Regions from separate parts of the Homo sapiens genome. Here region 1 is linked to region 2. Evidence: promoter capture Hi-C in 16 types of primary human blood cells and fetal thymus (Javierre and others, 2016). All regions are on one chromosome and are shown on one strand. Each heading gives the region's core, a stretch centred on a gene start or on the middle of the fragment in contact. The rest is flanking DNA. Distances are from core to core; before and after follow the strand shown. Region 1 has its middle 17 kb from the start of CRLF2. Region 2 holds the start of AKAP17A (A-kinase anchoring protein 17A).

The links. Contacts are between HindIII fragments. The CHiCAGO score rates a contact against its expected background, and 5 or more counts as called.
Region 1: a fragment that was not itself captured here is called in contact with the fragment with the promoter of AKAP17A in region 2 in 1 of 17 cell types (neutrophils); the score reaches 6.4 in neutrophils.

What each region holds. Positions count from the first base shown.
Region 1 is chrX:1,226,952-1,232,213 of GRCh38, forward strand. No RefSeq gene overlaps it. Among named protein-coding and RNA genes, the nearest start is that of CRLF2, 17 kb to the left of the region's middle. The HindIII fragment of the contact is 2,408 bases long and covers 2,734-5,141 here.
Region 2 is chrX:1,587,535-1,593,298 of GRCh38, forward strand. It overlaps AKAP17A (A-kinase anchoring protein 17A), which reads left to right and starts at 4,070. Exons shown (of 5, transcript NM_005088.3): 1 at 4,070-4,235. The HindIII fragment of the contact is 17,990 bases long and covers 1-5,175 here.

The sequences.
Region 1 (5,262 bases), core at 2,688-5,187, 360 kb before region 2:
GGTGGGTGGATGGATGGATGGATGGATGGATACATGAGAGGATGGATGATCTATCTATTAGACAGATGGGTTGGTGGATGGATGGGGGCATGAATGGATGGATGGATTGAGGAATGGGTGGATGGATGGATGGATGGATGGATGGATGGATGGATGGATACATGAGAGGATGGGTGAGTGGATGGGTGGGTGGATGGATGGATGGATACATGAGAGGATGGGTGAGTGGATGGATGGGTGGATGGATGGATTGAGGAATGGGTGGATGGGTGGGTGGACAGATGAATAGATAGGTGAGTGGGTGGGTAAATGGATGGATGGATGGATAGATGGATGGATGGGTGGATAGATTAGTTGGTAGATAAATAGATGAGTTGGTGGATGGATGGGGGTATGGATGGATTGGATGGATGGACGGATGGACTGAGGAATGGGTGGATGGATGGATGGATGGATAGATGGATGGATGGATGGATACATGAGAGGATGGGTGAGCGGATGGGTAGGTGGATGGATAGATGGATGGATGGATGGATACATGAGAGGATGGATGGGTGGATGGGTGGATGAGTGGATGGATGGAAGGATGGATGGATGGATGGATGGATGGATGGATGGATGGATGGATACATGAGAGGATGGGTGAGTGGATGGGTAGGCGGATGGATGGATTGAGGAATGGGTGGATGAGTGGGTGAATGTGTAGATGGGATGGGTGAGTCCACAAGTCTTGCTCACCTCCCAGCTGAGAATATGTGTCCTACTTTATTTGGTCTATAGACAATGCTTAATTCTTGGACCCACAGAAGAGTGTCTTGCCAACACTCCCCCATCTCATGCCATCCATAGGTGAGATATCCTCTGGCCACTGAAGGGGCCTCTGACATCTATATTTTTTTTCCAGAAGCTCAGATCCGTTCCCAGACAAAATCATAAAACTCTTAACAAACATTATAATGATGGATGGATGGATGGATGGATGGATGGATGGATGGATGGATGAATGAATGAATGGGTGGATGGATGGATAGATGGGTGAGTGAGTGGGTGGGTTGATGGATGGATGGATATTACTATTATTTTATTTATTTATTTTTTTGAATTGGAGTCTCACTCCATTGCCCAGGCTGGAGTGCAATGGCATGATCTCGGCTCACTGCAACTTCCACCTCCTGGGTTCAAGTGATCCTCCTCCCTCAGCCTCCCAAGTAGCTGGGATTACAGGCATGCACCACCAGGCCCGGCTAATTTTTTTTATTTTTGGTAGGGATGGAGTTTCACCATGTTGGCCAGGCTGGTCTCGAATTCCCGACCTCAGATGATCCACCCAACTCGGCCTCCCGAAGTGTTGGGATTACAGGCATAAGCCACTGCGCCCGGCCCTATTCCTTTATTGTTATAAAATAATAATAATAATGTAATTAAGTAAATGGTCCTTCACCTCTCTGTTCAACCATTTTCCTACCCTTGATTTACCATCAACTGCCTTTTTTTTTTTTTTTTTTGGAAAAGTGTGGAGTTATTCCAAAGAAAACCTCCTATAGGTAATGTGTAAACATCGTGACCAGAAATCCTGGAGATCCACGAAGGCAACTACAAAGACTATGAAGGGAAACTACAGAAGTGGTTTTCTTAAAAAAATATACAGGCTATTTTTAGAGTGTTTTTAGGTTTAGAGCAAAATTTGCAGAAAGTACAGAAAGTTCTTATATATCCTCTCCCCAGCTCACAGCTTCGTCTATGGTGAACACCCTGCCTCAGCTTGGTGTGTTTGTTACAATCCATGAACTAATACTGATATATTATGAACAGAATAGTCAATAACAGTTCACATTAGAGTTCTTTTTTTTGAGACAGAGTCTCACTCTGTCGCCCAGGCTGGAGTGCAGTGGCGCGATCTCAGCTCACTGCAACCTCCGCCTCCTGGGTTCACGCCATTCTCCTGCCTCAGCCTCCCGAGTAGCTGGGACTACAGGCACCCTCCACCACGCCCGGCTAATTTTTGTATTTTTACTAGAGACGGGGTTTCACCATGTTGGTCAGGCTGGTCTCGAACTCCTGACCTCAGGTGATCCGCCCGCCTCAGCCTCCCAGTGCTGGGATGACAGGTGTGAGCCACCACTCCCAGCCCATGTTAGAGTTCTTTGTTGCTGTTGGCCGGGCGCGGTGGCTCACGCCTGTCATCCCAGCACTTAGGGAGGCCGAGACGGGTATATCACCAGGTCAGGAGATTGAGACCATCCTGGCTAACATGGTGAAACCCCATCTCTACTAAAAATACAAAAATAATTAGCCGGGCGTGGTGGCGGGCGCCTGTAGTCTCAGCTACTCGGGAGGCTGAGGCAGGAGAATGGCGTGAACCTGGGAGGTGGAGTTTGCAGTGAGCTGAGATCGCGCCACTGCACTCCAGCCTGGGCGATAGAGCGAGCCTCCATCTCAAAAAAAAAAGAGTTCTTTGTTGCTGTTGTAAGTTCTGTGCGTTTGGACAAACATATAGTGACGTTGGATGGACCATTATACGATCAAATGGAGGAGTTTCACTGCTCTAAAAATCCCCTGAGTTCTACCTGTTCATTCCTCCCTGCCTGACACCTCTGGCCACCCCTGATCATCTTACTGTCTGCATAAGTTTGCTTTCTTTTTCTTTTCTTTTCTTTTCTTTTTTTTTTTTGACACAGAGTCTCACTCTGTCTCCCACGTTGGAGTGCAGTCGCGTGATCTGGGTTCACTGCAAGCTTTGCCTCCCAGGTTCAAGCGATTCTCCTGCCTCAGCCTCCCGAGTAGCTGAGATGACAGGTGCCCGCCACCAAGCCCGGCTGATTTTGTGTTTTCTGTAGAGACGAGGTTTCCCCATGTCGGCCAGGCTGGTCTTGAACTCCCGACTTCAGGTGATCCACCCACCTCGGCCTCCCAAAGTGTTGGGATGACAGGCGTGAGCCACCGTGCCCGGACAGTTTTGCCTTTTCTAGAATGTCTTATAGTTGCAGCCATAGTCTGTAGCCATCTCAGACTGACTTTCTTTTTTCATTCAATGGTTTTTTGTTTGTTTGTCTTTTTGTTTGTAGAGAAGTTCAGGTTTAAAGAAAAACTGAGCAGGGGCCGGGCGTGGCGGCTCACGCCTGTGATCCCAGGACTTTGGGAGGCCGAGGCAGGTGGATCACCTGAGGTCAGGAGTTGGAGACCAGCCTGGCCAAAATCACTAAGCTAAAGAGAAAATTCAAGCTAGGAGGTGCTCAGGGCAAATCTGCCTCCGTTTCTATAAAAAGTCAACCCTGTGGTCATGGAGATAGATGCATATTCTGATTGCCTGCTTTCGAGAGGCTTATCAGAAACTCAGAGGAATACAGCCATCGGTCTCTCACCTACCTCGGACCTGGGAGCCCCCTGCTTGCTTTAAGTCATCCCTGCCTTTCTGCACAGAACCAGTGTACTTCTTACATATATTAATTCACATCTCATGTCTCCTTAAAATGCATAAAACAAAGGCCGGGCGCGGAGGCTCACGCCTGTCATCCCAGCACTTTGGGAGGCCGAGGCGGGTGGGTCACCTAAGGTTAGGAGTTCAAGACCAGCCTGGCCAACATGGTGAAACCCTGTCTCTACTAAAAATACAAAAAAAAAAAAAAAAATTAGCCAAATGTAGTGGCAGGTGCCTGTAATCCCAGCTACTCGGGAGGCTGAGGCAGGAGAATCGCCTGAACCCAGAAGGCGGAGGTCGCAGTGAGCCGAGACCGCGGCACTGCACTCCAGCCTGGGTGACAGAGTGAGACTCCGTCTCAAAAAAAAAAAAAAAATGCATACAATGAACTGGGCGCAGTGGCCCACGCCTGTCATCCCAGCGCTTTGGAAGGTTGAGCCAGGCAGATCACCTGAGGTCAAGAGTTTGAGAACAGCCTGGTCAACAGTGTGAACCTAGTGTCTACTAAAAATACAAAAACTAGCCAAAAGTGGTGGCGGGCGCCTGTAGTCCCAGCTACTCGGGAGGCTGAGGCAGGAGAATCGCTTGAACCCTGGAGGCGGAGGTTGCAGTGAGCGGAGATCACGCCACTGCACTCCAGCCTGGGCGACAGAGAGAGACAACATCTCAAAAAAGAAAAAAGTATAAAACCAAGCTGTAAGGCCGGGCCTGATGGCTCATGCCTGTAATCCCAGCACTTCGGGAGGCCGAGGTGGGTGGATCACCTGAGGTCAGGAGTTCGAGACCAGCCTGGCCAACATAGTGAGACCCTATCTCTACTAATAATACAAAAATTAGCCAGGCGTGGTGGTGCATGCCTGTAATCCCAGCTACTCAAGAGGCTGAGGCAGGAGAATCGCTTGAACCCAGGAGGCAGAGGTTGCAGTGAGCCGAGATCATGTCACTGCACTCTAGCCTGGGCAACAGGGTGAGACTCTGTCTCAGGAAAAAAAAAAAAAAAAAATGGCCAAGTGCAGTGGCTCCAGCCTGTAATCCCAGCACTTTGGGAGCCCAAGGCGGGTGGACTGCGTGATGTCAGGAGTTCAAGACCATCCTGGCTAACACGGTGAATCCCCGTCTCTACGAAAATACAAAAAATTAGCCGGGCATGGTGATGTGCGCCTGTGGTCCCAGCTACTCGGGAGGCTGAGGCAGGAGAATCGCTTGAACCCGGGAGGCGGAGGTTGCAGTGAGCTGAGATCGTGTCACTGCACTCCAGCCTGGGCAACACGGTGAGACTCCGTCTCAAAAAAAAAAAAAAAAAAATCAGCCGGGCGTGGGTGCCTCTCACCTGTAATCCCAGCACTTTGGGAGGCCGAGGCGGGCGGATCACCTGAGGTCAGGAGTTGGAGACCAGCCTGGCCAACATGGCGAAATCCCGTCTCTACTAAAAATACAAAAATTAGCTGGGGTGTTGTGGCAGGTGCCTGTAGTCTCAGCTCCTTGGGAGGCTGAGGCAGGAGAATTGCTTGAACCCGGGAGGTGGAGGTTGCAGTGAGCTGAGATCATGTCACTGTGTTCCAGCCTGGGTAACAGGGTGAGACTCCATCTCAAAAAAAAACAAAACAAACAAACAAAAAAAAAACCAAAAAACCAAAACAAGCTGTACCCGAAGCATGGGCACGTGTCATCAGGACCTCATGAGGCTGTGTCACGGAAACACATCCTCAGCCTTGGCAAAAGAAGCTTTCGAAGTTAAATGAGACCTGTCTCAAATTTTAGGACTTCAAATTTTTATGTATGAATTAGAATGAATAAATACATTTCCTAATGAGATAGAATGAAAGAGAAGGCCTCCTTCTGTG
Region 2 (5,764 bases), core at 2,820-5,319:
TATTAGCCTTTATGGACATCATGGCTCACACAATGCAAACGCCCCCCCAAATACCCACAAGCCCTCTTCTTCCTTCCCCTCCCCTCCCTTCCCCTCCTCTACCTTCCCTTCCCCTCCCCTCCCCTCCCCTCCCTTCCCCTCCTCTCCCTTCCCTTCCCCTCCCCTCCCCTCCCCTCCCTTCCCCTCCCTTCCCCTCCCCTCCTCTCCCCTCCCTTCCCCTCCCTTCCCCTCCCCTCTCCTCCCCTCCCTTCCCTTCCCCTCTCCTCCCCTCCCTTCCCCTCCCCTCTCCTCCCCCCTTCCCCTCCCCTCCCCTCCCCCTTCCCCTCCCCTCCCCCCTTCCCCTCCCCTCTCCTCCCCACTTCCCCTCCCCTCTCCTCCCCCCTTCCCCTCCCCTCTCCTCCCCCCTTCCCCTGCCCTCTCCTCCCCCTCTTCCCCTGCCCTCTCCTCCCCCCCTTCCCCTCCCCTCTCCTCCCTTCCTTTCCCCTCCTCTTCCATTCCCTTCTTTCCTCCCATCCCCTCCTCCCTTCCCCTCCCTTCCCCTCCCTTCCCCTCCCTTCCCCTGCCCTCCCCTCCCCTCCCCTTCCTTCTCCTCCCCTCCCCTCCCTTCCCCTCCCCCCTCCCCTTTCCTCTGCTCCCTTCCCCTCCCCTCTCCTCCCCCCTTCCCCGCCCCTTCCCTTCCCTTCTTTCCTCCCATCCCCTCCTCCCCTCCCTTCCCCTCCCCTCCCTTCCCCTCCCCTCCTTTCCCCTCTCCTCCCCTCCCCTCCTTTCCCTCCCCCTCCCCTCCTCTCCCTTCCCCTCCCCTCCTCTCCCTTCCCCTCCCTTCCCCTCCCCTCCCCTCCTTTCCCTTCCCCTCCCCTCCTCTCCCTTCCCCTCCCCCCCTCCCCTCCCTTCGCTTCCCCTCCCCTCCCCTCCCCTCCCTTCCCCTCCCCCCTCCCCTCCCTTCCCCTCCCCCCTCCCCTTTCCTCCACTCCCTTCCCCTCCCCTCTCCTCCCCCCTTCCCCTCCCCTTCCCTTCCCTTCTTTCCTCCCATCCCCTCCTCCCCTCCCCTCCCTTCCCCTCCCCTCCCTTCCCCTCCCCTCCCCTCCTTTCCCCTCTCCTCCCCTCCCCTCCTTTCCCTTCCCCTCCCCTCCTCTCCCTTCCCCTCCCCTCCTCTCCCTTCCCCTCCCTTCCCCTCCCCTCCCCTCCCCTCCTTTCCCTTCCCCTCCCCTCCTCTCCCTTCCCCTCCCCTCCTCTCCCTTCCCCTCCCCCTCCCCTCCCTTCCCTTCCCCTCCCCTCTCCTCCCCCTTCGCCTCCCCTCCCCTCCCTTCCCTTCCCCTCCCCTCCCTTCCCCTCCCCCTCCCCTTTCCTCCACTCCCTTCCCCTCCCCTCTCCTCCCCCCTTCCCCTCCCCTTCCCTTCCCTTCTTTCCTCCTATCCCCTCCTCCCCTCCCCTCCCTTCCCCTCCCCCCTCCCCTTTCCTCCGCTCCCTTCCCCTCCCCTCTCCTCCCCCCTTCCCCTCCCCTTCCCTTCCCTTCTTTCCTCCCATCCCCTCCTCCCCTCCCCTCCCTTCCCCTCCCCTCCCTTCCCCTCCCCTCCCCTCCTTTCCCTTCCCCTCCCCTCCTCTCCCTTCCCCTCCCCTCCTCTCCCTTCCCCTCCCTTCCCCTCCATTCCCCTCCCTTCCCCTCCATTCCCCTCCCTTCCCCTCCCCTCCTCTCCCTTCCCCTCCCTTCCCCTCCATTCCCCTCCCTTCCCCTCCCCTCCCCTTCTTTTGAGATGGAGTCTTCCTCTTGTCATCCAGGCTGGAGTGCAATGGCGCAATCTTGGCTCATTGCGACCTCCACCTCCCGGGTTCAAGCAATTCTCCTGCCTCAGCCTCCTGAATAGCTGGGATTACAGGTGCGCACCACCACGCCCAGCTAATTTTTGTATTTTTAGTAAAGACAGGGTTTCACCATGTTGGCCACAATTGTCTCAAACTCCTGACCTCAGGTGATCCACCCGCCTCGGCTTCCCAAAGTGCTGGGATTACAGGCATGAGCCACTGTACCCGGCCTAAATCACAGACTTTTATGTCTCACGGTTCTGGAGGCTGAGAGTCCAAGATCAATGAGTGGGAGGTTCAGTGTCTAGTGAGGACCCGCTTGCTGGTTCACAGGTGGTTCCTTCTGGCTGTGTCCTCACATGGTGGAAGGGGTGAGAGAGCTCTCTGGGGCCTGTCTTCTAAGAGCACAAATCCCACTCATGACCTAACCACCTCCTAAAAGCACCACCTCTAATACTCTTGCAGTGGGAACTGAGTTTGAACTTGAGTTTTGGAAGGACAGAAACATGGAAGGCATAGCAACCCTCTTACACAGCCCGGCCCCTCTGAAGCCTGCCTGGGTTCACAGAATGTTCCGTCTTCCTCAGGCCCCTGGTGTGTTGGCTTTCTCCTTTGTTGATAGCTGATGTTGAGCAATGCAAGATTTCTGTTCTGATTATCTGACCCTGGATATCCAGTTTGGGGACTTGTGACATATTTGGGACGTCAGAAGCACGTACCTCTCACATAGAGCATGGCATACTTAATAAACAATAAATTATAATAAAAAATGAATAATGCATTATAAATTATCATTACTTATTTATTTATTTATTGGAGACAGAGTCTCGCTCTGTTGCCCAGGATGGAGTGCAGTGGCGCCATCTTCGCTCACTGCAACCTCTGCCTCCTGGGTTCAAGTGATTCTCGGGCCTGCCTCAGCCTCCTGAGTAGCTGGGACTATAGGCAACCACCTCCACACCCGGCTAGTTTTTTGTCTTTTTAGTAGAGACGGGGTTTCACCATGCTGGCCAGGCTGGTCTTTTTTTTGTTTTGTTTTGACATGGAGTCTCGCTCTGTCAACCAGGCTGGAGTGCAGTGGCACGGTCTCACTGCAAGCCCCACCTCCCAGGTTCACGCCATTCTCCTGCCACAGCCTCCCGAGTAGCTGGTAGCTGGGACTACAGGTGCCCACCACCACGCCCGGCTGATTATTTTTTGTATTTTAGTAAAGACGGGGTTTCATCGTGTTAGCCAGGATGGTCTCGATCTCCTGACCTCATCATCCGCACATCTCGGCCTCCCAAAGTGCTGGGATTACAGGCATGAGCCACCGGGCCCGGCCCCAGGCTGGTCTTGAACTCCTGACCTTGTGATCTGCCCGCCTTGGCCCTCCAAAGTGCTGGCATTACAGACGTGAGCCACCGCACCTGGCCTCATTTATTATTTTGTAATCACATTATAAATTGTCATTTATTATTTCATAATTACATTATAAATGATCATTTCAGAATTACATTATATATTTTCATTTATTTCATAATTACACTATAGATTATCATTTATTATTCCAAAATTACATTATAAATTATGATTATATTATACAATAGCATTTGCTTCATAATTACATTAGATTATCATTTATTTTTAAATTACATTATATTTATTTCATAATTACATTATAAATTATCTTATAATTAGAAATGATCATTTATTTCATAATTGCAATATAAATTATTATTAATTTCATAATACCATTGTAAGTTATCATTTATTATTTCATAATTACATTATGTAATGGTATGCGTTAATAATTATTAATATACAATTAATAATTATTAACCATTCAATTAATAGTTAATTAACTAGCAATTTATATGTAATTCTATAATTACGTCATAGAATATGATATCTAATTTATACATAAATTATATTATTCAAGTATATTACCCATAATTTGCAAGTATAGTATAGAATCCCGTTATAGGATCCTATTACATTTTAGAATTTTGTTATATATATTTGACTCTACAATTGGAATTTAGACCCCACACCGGCCCCCCTCCTGTTTGGCTTAAGGGCTATGACCACAGACCCTGGCCCAAGTACCTCCCCTGGTTACCCGCAGGCAGGTGGCACCATGGGGGCGGGGCGGACTCGCGCACGCGCAGTGCAAAAGGTCGGGCTCCCGGAAGTCCCTCCTCCCGGGGGCGGAGCCAGGGCAAGAAGGAGAAACCCGGTGCTGCCGCGCGGCCTCTTCCGCGAGCCCGCGCGCCGGAAGTGGAAATGCGTCATAGAGGGCGGGCGGCGACGGCGGTGGCGGCGTCGGAGGCGCCTCCGGGGGACGGTGGCGGCTCCCGGCGGTGAGGCCGCGCCTGTCCGGGGATCGTCGAGGGACGGCGGGAGCTTGGGCCAGCGGCGGCGGCGGCCTGGGACGCAGGCGGAGCCCCGCGCAGGTGAGTGCCGCCCCCGTGCCTCCCGGGCCTGGCTGCAGCCGGCGAACGCTTCGCTCCTAGGGCCGGGCCCGGGGGGCCGGGGCTTGGGAGGCGGCGCCTAGGGGCCTCGGAGGTGACGGGGCTGGGGTTGGGGGGCGTGGGGTGCCACCGGGGGGCTGGGAGCGCCTGAAACTGTACGGGGGAATCGGGGGCTGGGGAGGTCTGCGGTCGGGGTCCGGGGGTCCCTGGAAGTAGGGGTAGGGGCTGGAGCGGTTCCTGGGACTGCACCGAAGGAGCTGAGGCCTGGAGCGGTGTCGGAGGGCTGGGAGCTCGGGGGATCGGATGGGCGGGAGACTAGGAGGCCTGGGACTAGGGGACGTGGCGCTGCGGTCGCTCCTAGGTCTACAGTGGGAAGCAAGGGGCTGTCCGGGGTTTTCGGAGGCTGGGGCGGTGCTGTGTAGGTTGGGGTATTGGGGCTCATCCAGGAGGGTGGTGGGGAGCGGGGAACTGAGGAGCTGAGGGTACCGAGTGGCCAAGGGCCTGAGAATGTGTGGGGCCCTGCCAGGGGTGCCAGCGGCAGCCTGAGGCCATGCTGGGGGGCTGCGGTAGGTGGGAATACCAGGGGCAATGCCGCGTACTGGGGATTGGGCAGCCAGGTGTACCGGGGTGGTCGGAGGGCGCTGGAGGCCAGAGTGGGGAGGGTTCCTCGGTGGTGAAGTTGCTGGGGCCGCTTGGGTTCTGGGGGAGGGTTCACTGGTCTCTGTCCAGACTGGAGCCCCTCCCTGGTGCCCCACTGACCTTTTCTGGTCGCTTCTCCACCCTCCCTCCCTTCTTTCGCACCTCCCACCTCGGGCTTGGGCGAGGAGGCCGTCTCCTGGGCCTGGCAGGAAGCCTCCAGGTTGATGGGGTGGGCGGCCGGGCCGGAGGCGGTCACCTGAGATGGTTGGGTTTCTGCGAGTGAAGCTTCCTCTACTTGGACTTGGCCGTCAGGAAGTGGCTGCCCGTCAGCTCAGCAGGGAAGAGGTGGGTTAATGAAGGTGGGCGGAGAAAGAAGGCGCAGACGGGGGACTCCGGCCCCTAACTTGTGGAAAGTTCGTTGTACTTTTTGGCTTTGAGTGGGTTAAAGCTGGGATACGTTTGGCCTTCGTGGAGATTACTAGGGTTCATGGTTCTGGATTGTTGTTGCAGCCCGAGACTTCCTGTTTTATCAGGGCAAGTACAGGGCCGCCGCCCCCTCCACAAAACCTTTCCAGATGCCTGCAGCTGTGCTCTCCCTGGCCCCTTCCCTTCCCCAGTGTCTCTCTGCCCCTTCCCGTGGAGCTAGGCGTTTGTAGCGTCCCCGTTCCTACTTGACCTGTGTGAGGGGCCTGGTCGTGCTCAGCTTCCTATTCTGCAGGCCTTGGGAGCTGCTGGCTGCTGGATGTAGGGTGTCGGGCAGTGCTGACCGAGGCTTTGACACTAACCTGTTCTTTATCAGCTCGGCTCTTTCCCCTTTGGTGTACTCTTAATGATTTCAAAAAGTAAAGAACTCCGTTGAGATGGCTGTTAAC